Linked DNA regions of Homo sapiens: region 2 is linked to region 1. The links are contacts of gene promoters, found by promoter capture Hi-C in blood cells and fetal thymus (Javierre and others, 2016). All regions are on one chromosome and are shown on one strand. Each heading gives the region's core, a stretch centred on a gene start or on the middle of the fragment in contact. The rest is flanking DNA. Distances are from core to core; before and after follow the strand shown.

The links. Contacts are between HindIII fragments. The CHiCAGO score rates a contact against its expected background, and 5 or more counts as called.
Region 2: the fragment with the promoter of RLIM here is called in contact with the fragment with the promoter of RPS4X in region 1 in 1 of 17 cell types (total CD4 T cells); the score reaches 7.1 in total CD4 T cells.

The regions. Positions count from the first base shown.
Region 1 is chrX:72,273,954-72,279,645 of GRCh38, forward strand. RPS4X (ribosomal protein S4 X-linked) reads right to left here and starts at 3,295. Exons shown (of 7, transcript NM_001007.5): 1 at 3,240-3,295; 2 at 2,204-2,281; 3 at 1,591-1,771; 4 at 1,100-1,197; 5 at 1-19. The coding sequence starts at 3,242. RefSeq lists enhancers at 2,795-2,874, 3,045-3,114. The HindIII fragment of the contact is 11,342 bases long and covers 1-5,692 here.
Region 2 is chrX:74,611,958-74,617,836 of GRCh38, forward strand. RLIM (ring finger protein, LIM domain interacting) reads right to left here and starts at 2,667. Exons shown (of 4, transcript NM_016120.4): 1 at 2,465-2,667. RefSeq lists an enhancer at 2,272-2,591. The HindIII fragment of the contact is 9,843 bases long and covers 904-5,879 here.

The DNA.
Region 1 (5,692 bases), core at 2,045-4,544:
TCACTTTGCACAACTTGTACTAGAAAAATACAAGGGTTAGCCACATTCAATCCATCTCACATGTACTTTTTAACCCTATACAGGAACCATGGGTTCCCTAACTGCTGCAGATTAATTGTGACGCTGATCGTTCTTTCCACCCTCAAGTGTATGTTGCATAAAGCCCTTCTCTAGGCTCGTCCTCCTAACATCCACCATTGCCCTCCACTCCTCCAATGTAAATGCCACTCCAGTTTCCCAGGCTCTTTAAGCCTTATGGGGCCCTGGGAATTCTTCCCTTCAACTCAACTTTATCTTAATGGCTCCCTGTACATCACGACTGAGTTTTGTCTCACAAACAGCAATTACATTACCAGTTCATCCAATCAACAAATACTTCACATAGCATTTCAATTTTGGATCTCTACTCCCTGATATCCTTGAAGTAAATCAAATAATCACAGATCCCACTGGACGTGCCCTCCAGTCTGCTGTTAACAAGGCTGTGCAAAAGGAAATTAGGAGCCACATCAGTCAATTAAATTAACCTTCATTTACAGCCAATAATCCAAACAGCCCTAAACTTTTGTGTAAAACCATCAAAACAAACTGGATTAAATAATCAAAGACTGTAATCTTTTTTTAAACCTCAAACTAGTGCCTCAAGGACTGTCTGTTTCCTCCATCGACACCTTCCCCTCCCCAAAGTAAAGCTACTCCCACAAATGGAGACATGGCAAAGGGCTCCTACGTCAGGTACCCAATAAACAAGTTCCCAGAAATCATTCTCCTTGACTCTTAAGAGACACCAGGAAGTCGCGGTTCAACTGGAATTCATTTCTACCACAAAAAAAGAAAATCTGCTGAGGAAGTTAACTTCAAATGGGGGCCAATTTTAGGTATCCATCAATGCCCTACAGCTATCAGCCAGACTTTTAATAACATGACAAAAAGTTACATGTAAGACAGAATCTCATCGAATTGTTAGCTAGATATTTCCAGGTATGAGATTTTAACTAATCAATACCCACCTCATTGCAAGCAGCACTCGTACTCAATGCAGGCCCTTAGAACAAAGTAACTATACTGAGTAAAGACCCAGCTTGCTTGCCACACTCACCTTGGCCTCCTCAGGTGTAATACGATGTACAGCAAAGCGACCCTTGGTGTCATAGATCAGACGGAAATTCTCTCCCGTCTTGTCAATGCTGATGACATCTGAAATCAAGCAGTAACCGGTTACTACATACAGTGATCCCCACTACCTCATGCCGAGCAACAACCATAGCTCTCTACGAAACAAAAAGAACCCCCATGTGCCTCCCAGTTCTAATCCAACAAGGATTCTGAAGATTAAAGATCACGGCCAGATCTTCAATATTTCAAAACCCCATGACTGCATGTAAAATTTAAAAGTGAATCGAAATTTAGTTTTGAAAAGCGTTTCATGATTATTTGCATGTTTTTTATTTAAGTAAAAAACAGAGGGAAGGTCAGGCTTTGTTTCTGAGACTTGACAGATTACAAAGGTTAGAAAAATGATCAAGACAGTATTTGGATACCATAGGGCTGCCATCAATATGCGTCTCCAGAGTATTTAAAACTTCTTACCCATGAATCCAGCAGGGTAGGTTATATCAGTTCGGACCTTGCCATCGATTTTAATGAACCGCTGCATGCAAATCTTCTTTACTTCATCTCCTGTCAGGGCATACTTAAGTCTGTTCCTCAGGAAAATGATGAGGGGGAGACACTCTCTCAACTTGTGGGGACCGGTGGATGGACGAGGAGCCTGTAACGTTAAAAATGATAATCACTGTTGGGATTCACTAAAGCACTCAAACCTACCTCCTAGTCCACCAGATCCACTAACTGAACACCAAGACCGTCCATATTACACCCAACTTGGACTTTTACACAGGAGGTGTAAAAAGCATCCAAAACTATTTCATACCTTAAAGTTTTATAGCATCTTCCCTGTCAGAGGACCAGGATCATTAAGAACATGAATCCTGAGTCCATGTAAATGTACTATGTGGTATGTGGAATAAATGAGGCACAAAAATATTAAATCGATTGGAAGTGGAGGACAGCTAGATAGTATAGCTCCTTCAAGGGCAGAGGAAGCCAAGAATAGATATTCCTCCCCTAGCCTGGTCCCCAAATGAGTCCTGGGAGACACTTAAAAACAGTGGCCACGGAAATATTTATATAAGATACTTACAAACACACCGGTCAATTTATCCAGCATCCAATGCTTTGGAGCTGCCACCCGCTTCAGATGCTTCTTGGGACCACGAGCCTGAAAGTTTTAGATTGCAATGCTGTTAATCAGGTTTCAGAACAGCTTATAAAACCTAGTGTGAAACTAAACTCTTAGTTTAGTTTCATCTTCAGCAAAATGTGGACAATATTAAAGTATAGTGTTCCGATAAAACAGAAACAAACACAGTTATTTAACAAACACCGTGAGATCCATAAGCTGCAACAAGCCTTCTTATTGTAACAGAGAATATTCTTGGTTACTATGTTTCAGAACGTTTACTGATTACTATCTTTCAGAACCTTGCTAAAGTGTTTCCATGTTACTGTTTGAAACTGTATCTGCTTAGAGGTTAGGGTCTTTCAAGAACACCATACTAGTGAAACGCACAGCAACAGAAATGAGCCAGGAGTCTACCTGTGTTTCTAAAGTTTTCACAATTTATTACCGTCTGTTTTTGACACGTATGGAACAAGATTCTGACATCCGCACAAACACATGTGCTGCTCCTTCGTACACTAAAGCCAAAAGCTGACACCAATTTTACTTTAAAAAGAGTAAGGAAGCCTTTTTAATGCTGTGTCCAGATGCTTACCGGCCACGTATGGTAAAGTCAGGCCGTGCCAAAAAGGCAATGACAAAGAAAACCTTTCTCCGCCGGGCACCCCCAGCGCCCACCAACCTCGGGCTCGCAGTCTGAGCTCCTGGCCCAGCCGCGGCTCCGGCCCGGGAGGAAAAGCAGCTTCTCCCGGGATCAGGACGTATGGCCGGGTCAGAAACCGAGGCCTTCCCAACAGCAGCACCAGATCTGCGCCTCCCCAACCCTAGGCCAGCGTTCGCCCTTCGCCCTGGAGCCCGTCCCGGCCTACCACGGAGGCCGTGATCCCTTCGCCTCTGCCCGGCCATCCCCAGTAGGAATCCCGAAACCTCGGGCAGCCCCGGCCGGGGGAGGATGGAGGCGGATACGTCCTAAGAGCTCGCTAACTAAACGGCTTACCATGGCTGCGTTAGGCAAGGAAAGAGGACCTCCGTCTTCCGGTGCGCGTAGAAATTGGGGCTGGAGACTGCGCGCGCCGGATTTTCAGCTGCTCCGCCCAGCTCAGCCCTTTGCTGGCGCGCCGGGACTCTTTCTTGCCATCTGCTGGTGGGAGGTCAGAAGTCCCGAGTTGAGGAACCGCCGCGGAAAGAGGGTGTCTCCTAAGGGCGATTTCCTCCCTCCCCTTTTTCCGCCCTTCCTCCTCCCATATTTGCTGAGCGCCTCTTGTGTGCCTTATTCTGTGCTAGGTGCTGGGAATACAAAGATGAGCTACACAACATCCCTGGCCTCAAGGAGAGTTCAAAGTGAGCTTACTTCCAGTCTCACGTACAGATGATTCTACGCCTGTAATCCCAGCACTTTGGGAGGCCGAGGCGGGCGGATCATGAGGTCAGGAGATCGAGACCATCCTGGCTAACACAGTGAAACCCCGTCTATACTAAAAAAAAATACAAAAAAATTAGCCGGGCATAGTGGCGGGCGCCTGTAGTCCCAGCTACTCGGGAAGCTGAGGCAGGAGAATGGCGTGAACCCCGGAGGTGGAGCTTGCAGTGAGCCGAGATCGCGCCACTGCACTCCAGCCTGGGCGACAGAGCGAGACTCCGTCTCAAAAACAAAACAAAACAAAACAAAACAAAGAACTTGTATATAATCAATAGAATACATTTTAATAAATATTTAATGTTATTTCTTAAACGTATTTTGTCTGTCCCTTTTTTGTGTTCCCTTGAGCCAGCCAGGCAGCCCATACTGAGTTGGGAAGAGCCAACAACGTTTTTAACCCCCTCTTGCTTCTCTGCTTGAACTCTGACATCCTCCCCCTTGCTTCCTGTACAACGCATTTGGCACTTATAGAGACTCAGGGAGGAGAGAGGATATTAGAAATCGTCTGGTTATATCTAACTAAAATGTAGATCTGATCCTGCTTCGAAACTGCCCTTGGCCCTCTGTTTCCTGCCGTAAGGGAGCAGGTCTGAACTTTATCTGGCTCCATTGCTCTCTCTCCCCAATCCCAAACTTCAAAGCTCAAGCCCCACCAAGCTAGTTTGTTCCGAGGGAGTCAGCTCTTTTTGTTTGTTTGTTTGGGAGACAGGGTCTCACTCTGTCACCCAGGCTGTAGTGCATGGCTCACTGCAGCCTCGACAGACAGCCCGGGCTCAAGCGATCCTCTCACTTCAGCCCCCACGAGTAGCTGGGACAACAGGCGCACGCCACTGCACCCAACTAATTTTTTGTAGTTTTATTTTTTTGTAGAGACGGGGTTTCGCCATGTTACCTAGGCTGGTCTCAAACTCCTGGACTCAAGCGATCCGCCCGCCTCGACCTCCCAAAGTGCTGGGATTACAGGCCTGAGCCACTGCGCCTGGCTAGAGTCAGCTCTTTCAAGACTGCTTGTGGACTCGATTCCTTAGCTTGGAACTGCCACAAACAGCCAAACCCCCTTCCTGGGTACCACCTAATCCCACACCTCAGCCTTGGAAATGCACAGTTCAAGTCCCTCTGGTTCTGTGGGCTCGTGGTCCCCTCAGTCAGGGTAAATCCCTCATTCTTGCCCCAGAGGCTTGTGTTCAAACTTGGTGAGGGCACACAGCACATTAGGTAGCAAGGACAAATTTAGTTACCTGGCCTCCACCAAACTGAGCACCTCCAGGATGGAGCCTGCCCTAATTCATCTGGGCAGGCCCCTTGCCACTGAACAGAGAGCTCGGCACTGTGTCCAGCACTTGATAAATACTTGTTGAATGAATAAACGGAGTCAGCATCCCACTTATTGTGCCAAGTCCTACTGTACTATCCCTGAGAGCATCCAGCCTGTGCCTGAATTCTTCCCACCATGAGATCAAGCTCCTAACTCATGAGGTTCCATTTCACAAGTCTCTATCTGTACCATCCACTTTACCCCTCAGCAGTCTGCAGAGGAGCAAGAGAGGGAAACATTGTTGGCTCTTCTCAAGCAGACAGTATTAACCAAGCAGACAGTATTAACTAAGAGGGCAGGAACTCCTCCTTGTCTAAAACTGGGATACAATCCACAATAAAGCATGTTATAAGTGATTATTGGAAAGGATCGATTAATTGGAGGTGAGGAGTAGAGAGAAGGTGAAGGTGATGAGATAATGGAAGTTGGTTCTGAGGTTTTTAATCTGAGAGCACTGGGAAGATGGTGGTACAATTAACAGAAATGGTGGAGAAGTTGCTGTGGGAGTGGGGGGATAACCATGTGCTTTCCAGCTAGAGAGGATAGGAGAAATGGCTGGTTAGAGCTGCAGATCTCACTTAATCAAGATCACACAGCCCGTTTGGGGATGAGGGGACTTGTCTCTTGCCTCCCAGGTGAGTGGTTTGTTTTTATGCCATAGGTTATCAAAGGACTTGAGGAAATCAAAGCATCTTTTTCAGTATATTTCTCTCTC
Region 2 (5,879 bases), core at 1,417-3,916, 2.3 Mb after region 1:
ATCCATCCCAGTTTGTCGGGGACAATCAAGGTTTGCACCTGCTGTCCAGGAATTATTAATGTTCCTTTTGTTCTTAAAAGTGTCTTGGTTAGGCAATAAATTATGTGGTTACCCTAATGATGATGATAATAATAATGAAAGGAGTCAATATCAATTAAAAGTATCATGTATCAATTATGAATTTTTGAATCTTAAAGGAAAAAAATCAACCACCACACACAAAGTAACGTAAAATTATACTCTCGTAAGCTATTCTGATATTTCATTTAGTTATCCAATGAACATTTAAATGTTATTTTACTTATACTCATGCCATTCCAACAATGATATAAGACAACAAATTTTTTGTTGTTGTTGTTCTATACAGGTATTGGTAAACTTCAGACATTATTTTAAAGAGTCAAATTCACAGATAAAGCACTGGTGAGTTCCAGGTATCCAGAAACATTACCCTTTTAATTCCCAGTGAAAAGTACCCATTCTTATCATGAAGAATACCCAACACCATCTAACATCTATCAATGAGCCCATCCAATTACAGGGCCTGCAAAATAGAACAATAAATATTTGTAAACATGCATTCTACACATAAATCATCAGGAGACGCAACAAAAAATAAATTACCTGACTGTTATGACATAGTATTGAAATACAATAAACTGGATTTTAGTTTTCTTCACTCTGCTCTAGAAAAAAAAAGAATCCATTATTCTTCCTCTTTAAAAAGATACACATTTTCTTTGAATTAGACACAACCTAAAAAAAAAAATACAGACACACCATAACCCAACCTAATTCAATATTAGTATTAGGGCATTTGGGGAGAGCAAGAAGGTCAGAGGGGACCAGGAGTTAGATAAAAGATGTCTTCTAAGACTGAGAGACAATTTACGTTTTATTATAAGCTTGCTTAAAATAAGCCTTTCCTTATCAGACCAGTAATTATTTTCAGATTCTGATAGTCACTTTCAAGGACTTATCTGGCACATTACACTAGCCTAAGGTAGGAACTAAAGTATTAAAATTCATCAGAACATCATGGACTAAAAAAATCTTTGTAACATTTTTCAGTAAGTGGAGTGTGTCCTAAAATCAAGTTTTAAAAAGTGGATTGGTCTTTCTAGCTACCTAAGCTATATTTCTACAGTTTAGAAAAGTCATGGGGGGGGAGGGGTTATAATTGTGCCAGTCCTCCAGGGAAGATACAATGTACTTAATGGGGTGATAAGTAGTTACTCTGTCTATAATCACGAAGAATGAAAGAAATGATTAGTAGCAGTAGGTTTATTATTTCTTCCCCCTTTCAATCAGTCCAAAACACTGCGGTTAATTCTGATTCAGGAAATGCGGGCTCCTTACTTCTGGCAAAAAATCATTGTGGGGTCTTGCAAATGGAAGATGACAATCTGATACAACTGCTTCCTCTTGCCCCAAAATGAAAAAAAAAATGACCTCAATAACAAGACTGCTAGGCCTCAGATTCCCAGACTAACCTGTGGAATAAGTATGGTGAAACTGTCTAGGGAAGGAACGTGGCTGTCTCCTCCATCTTGAAATTAATCAGCATAAGGGAAAAAGGGACCGAGTATTCAGGAAGCAGAAGCCCAACCGGTTAATACTAGTTACTAAGCTATGGCATGCGTGGCAGGTACCGTCTGCAGAAGCAGAGACCCCCCTAGGCTTTTTTTTTTTTTTTTAATGGGGGAGGGATTGAGTTGTTGGTGGATTAAACACAAATTAACTTGAAAATTTGGCCCAATTCCATCCCTTATCCAGGAGAACACAACAAACACCTAACGGCTTTTCCCTCTCTTTTGCGGGGGGATCCTTCCAGTGATACCTGGCAAAGGATATGCCAGGGTTATTCGAGCAAGGGAGTAAACCACATTTGCCTCAGATCCTCAGGGAAGATGTCATCGCGGCCCCAGGGGGCGCCTAATTGGTAATACCCTGCAGAAGGGCTCAAAATGAGGTTTTGGAAATCTAAAGGCCCAAGAGTTGCCAGCATCTCACTTGGGGCAGCCTGATTTTTTACTTCCCTTTTCCCAAACCCAAGCCCGCCATGGAAAACGCGGGGAGGTCAGGGAAGCCTCCAGAGAACAGAGAAGAAAAAGCCTGAGACGTTCTAAGATTCTGACGCCTGAGGCCAAAACTCAAAAACTGCCTCCCCCGATTTCCTAAGGCTCCGGAGGGCCTGGGCTGCAGCTCGCGCGGCCACCGAGAGGAAGTACTACCCACCTCCTTCCCCTTCAAAGAGCCTGTCGACTATACCACTCAACTAAAATGGCAGCGGCGACTACGCCACGGAGCCCCCCGCAGCAACGGGCCTGGGGTCCGGAGGCGGCGCTGAGCCTCTGCCACGACGCGTCACTCGGGCCATTTTGAGAGAACGCGGCAGCCGCGGCTCCGCTGTCTTCCTCTCGCTCTACATCATTTCTCACAGGATTCCCAAGTCTTCACTTACTAGGTTTTAGGGTCAGGATCCGACTCGGTTGGTTCGGCCGCCGCCGCCGAGGCTGCTCCGCACCTCCCTGGCCGCCGCTCTCAAGCCCGCCTCCAATGAGTAGCTGGTTGAGACCCGCCTCTAGCCCAGCGCCTGCTCGGAGACGTTGCTCAGGCAGCCATTATCTTCCCCATTGTTACCAAGCAGCGACAGGAAACGACTGCCCACAACAGGAAGTGATGATGCCGCGTCCCGGCACCGCAGCCCCACTCCCAGCCTATTAGCCAATCCCAGTCGATTCCTCGAAAAGGCTCCGCGGGAGGAGGAGGGGGACGGCAGACGACGCGGCAAGGCGGGCGGCGGTTTGGAAAAGGAAAGCTGTTATGACGCCCACCATGTGACAGGCCCCACCCTCCTCCGCCATTTTGAATTGTGGCGAGAAATTTGCGTTCTGAGAATTGTGGGAACCTTCGCTTTCCCATTTTGAAAACTGAAGGACGTCACGGTCTGACTGCTTGAAGACATTTTCAGAGAGAGAGAAATGTGATATTAGTCTACCCTGACATCACATCAGTTCACACAATCCGTGCAGACCAGTTCAAAAAGTAGCCTGCGTTTTATTCAACATGTATTTACACAGTGCCAACTGCATGTCAAGCACCATTGTAGCTGCTTAGGAAATTAAAATAGACCAAAATTAAGAAAGAAAACAGGCCACGTTCGGTGGCTCACGCCTGTAATCCCAGCACTTTGGGAAGCCGAAGCGGGCGGATCACCTGAGGTCAGGAGTTCGAGACCAGCCTGGCCAACATGGTGAAACCCAGTCTCTACTAAAAATACGAAAATTAGCCGGGCGTGGTGGCGGGCGCCTGTAATCTCTGCTAATCGGGAGGCTGAGGCAGGAGAATAGCTGAACCCAGGAGGCGAAGATTGCAGTGAGCCGGGATCTCGCCACTGCACTCTAGCCTGGGTGACAGAGCAAGGCTGTGTCTCAAAAAAAAAAAAAAAAAAAAAAAGAAAACAGATCAAAATCCCAGTTCTCTTGAGTCTTTATAGGGGCCAGGGACAATAATTTAGAAAAAATCAAACATAAATACATATCATGTTAGTGATAAATGCCAAGGAGAAAAATCAAGGAAGGGGGACAGAAGAGTTCCTTGTAGGGACAAACGGATTCGTGATGTTTAAAAGACTGATAACTTTGAGGCATTAACTCTAAAGTATTCGAAAAAGGGCGGTGATTGTAAAAGGGTGGGAAAATCTGATAACGTTGGGATTTGTAAAAGGGCAGTTAAAGAAGGCCTTTCTTAGGTAGTAATGCCTGAAAGAATTGAGGGAACTCGCCACACAGCATGCCACTCCCATTGTCACAGTTAAAGGAAAACCTTACCCAAGTTTTTAGATTCTTTTCCTTTTCCCAATTTTTCTGTTTTCCAATAGCATGCCAGCTATGCTGGCTTTGTTACGGTTTTTCCAACAAAGCTAACTTCTTCCTACTTCAACTACTTTACCTTTGCTGGAATATTTTACTTTCATATCTTTGCTTTCATCATCCAAGCCTCGCAATTATTAACTTCCTAGAGAAGCCTTCCCTGACCACCCTACCTAAAATAACTTCTTCCTGAAGGCGGAAAAAGGTCTGAGGAAAAAAAAAAAAAGAAAAAAGTAATAACGACTTCTCCCATCTCCTTACCTGCTTACTTTTCTTGTAAAACACTTAATCTGAAAGTAAGTTATTTATTTGTTTGTTTACTTCACCCTTTCTGAGCAGTAAACCTCTCTGTTTTGTTCACTGTTGTGTCCCCAGCGACCACATAGTAAGCCCTCAAAATACTTTGGGAGAATTACCCCCTCACCATGATGGATGTTATATCAGCCTGGAATATAAGTATTTCACTCCAAGCAGTTAAAACAATATCCCTCATACTTACCTGCCCAACTCCCTAGAAGACTCATTGATATTGTCATTTTTGGCAGAGGGATACATGATTTAGGCGCTGTGTCTCTACTCAGGTTTTTGTCTTATTTTACATAATCATGTACTAGAACGATTACCTAGAACGTGTAAAAGGAATTCTTCAGTAGCCTGCAATTGCCATTAAGCCTGATATTCTGATTATGGCAATAACATTAGCCACTCCTTAACGTATTCTTGAGGCTTATGTGGCTTAATCTAAAATATAAAATCATAAAAGAAGTGGAAGAAAATACAGGTTACTATTTCTGTCCTTTCTTCCTTCCTTCCTTCCTTCCTTCCTTCCTTCCTTCCTTCCTTCCTTCCTTCTTTCTTTCTTTTTTTTTTTTGATGGAGTCTTGCTTTGTTGCCCAGGCTGGAGTCCAGTGGCATGATCTCAGCTCACTGCAACCTCCGTCTCCTGGGTTCAAGCGATTCTCCTACCTCAGCCTCCCCAGTAGCTGGGATTGCAGGCATGCACCACCACGCCTGGCTAATTTTTGTATTTTTAGTAGAGATGAGGTTTCACCATGTTGGGCAGCCTGGTCTCCAACTCCTGACTTCATGATCCGCCTGCCTGGGCCTCCCAAAGTGTTGGGATTACAGGCGTGAGCCACTGTCCAGGCCTAGGTTAATATTTCTATAGCCTTGGGGATGCAGAAGCACTTTTGAAATACAACACAAAATCCATAATGGGAAAGACTAATAAGTACAACTTCATAAATAAAAGTAAACCTTCTAAATGTCAAAATACAAGGTTGGTAAAGTTAAAAGACAAATGATAAATTGAAAAAAATCATTTCATAATGACATATTAGAGCCAAGGGGTAATATCTTTACTTAATAAAAAGACGAAACACTAGCAAAAATGTTACATATGTGATAAACACATATGGCTAATATCAGCCTATAAAGAGTTGTTAAACATTGATTTTTAAAAAGATAAATACCGGCCGGGCGCAGGGGCTCACACCTGTAATCCCAGCACTTTGGGAGGCCAAGGCAGGCGGATCACAAGGTCAGGAGATCAAGACCAGCCTGGCCAATATGGTGAAACCCCGTCTCTACTAAAAAAAATACAAAAATTAGCTGGGCGTGGTGGCGTACTCACTCCTGTAGTCCCAGCTACTTGGGAGGCTGAGGAAAAGGAATTGATTGAACCCGGGAGGCAGAGGTTGGAGTGAGCCGAGATCATGCCACTGCACTCCAGCCTGGGTAACAGCAAGACTGCATCTCAAAAAAAAAAAAAAAAAAAAAAGAGATAAATACCTCCATTTCAAAATGTGCAAGGAACATGAATGGATAATTCATAAAAGGATAAAACACGTGGCTGATAAGCATATGACAATATATTCTTTTTTTCTTGTTAGTAAATAACCTTGTACTTGAAAATATATTCAGCCTCACTAGTAATTAATCAAAAATAAAAACAATGAGGTACAACTATTATGTATCCATAATAATTAAAAAACAATAGCTGGG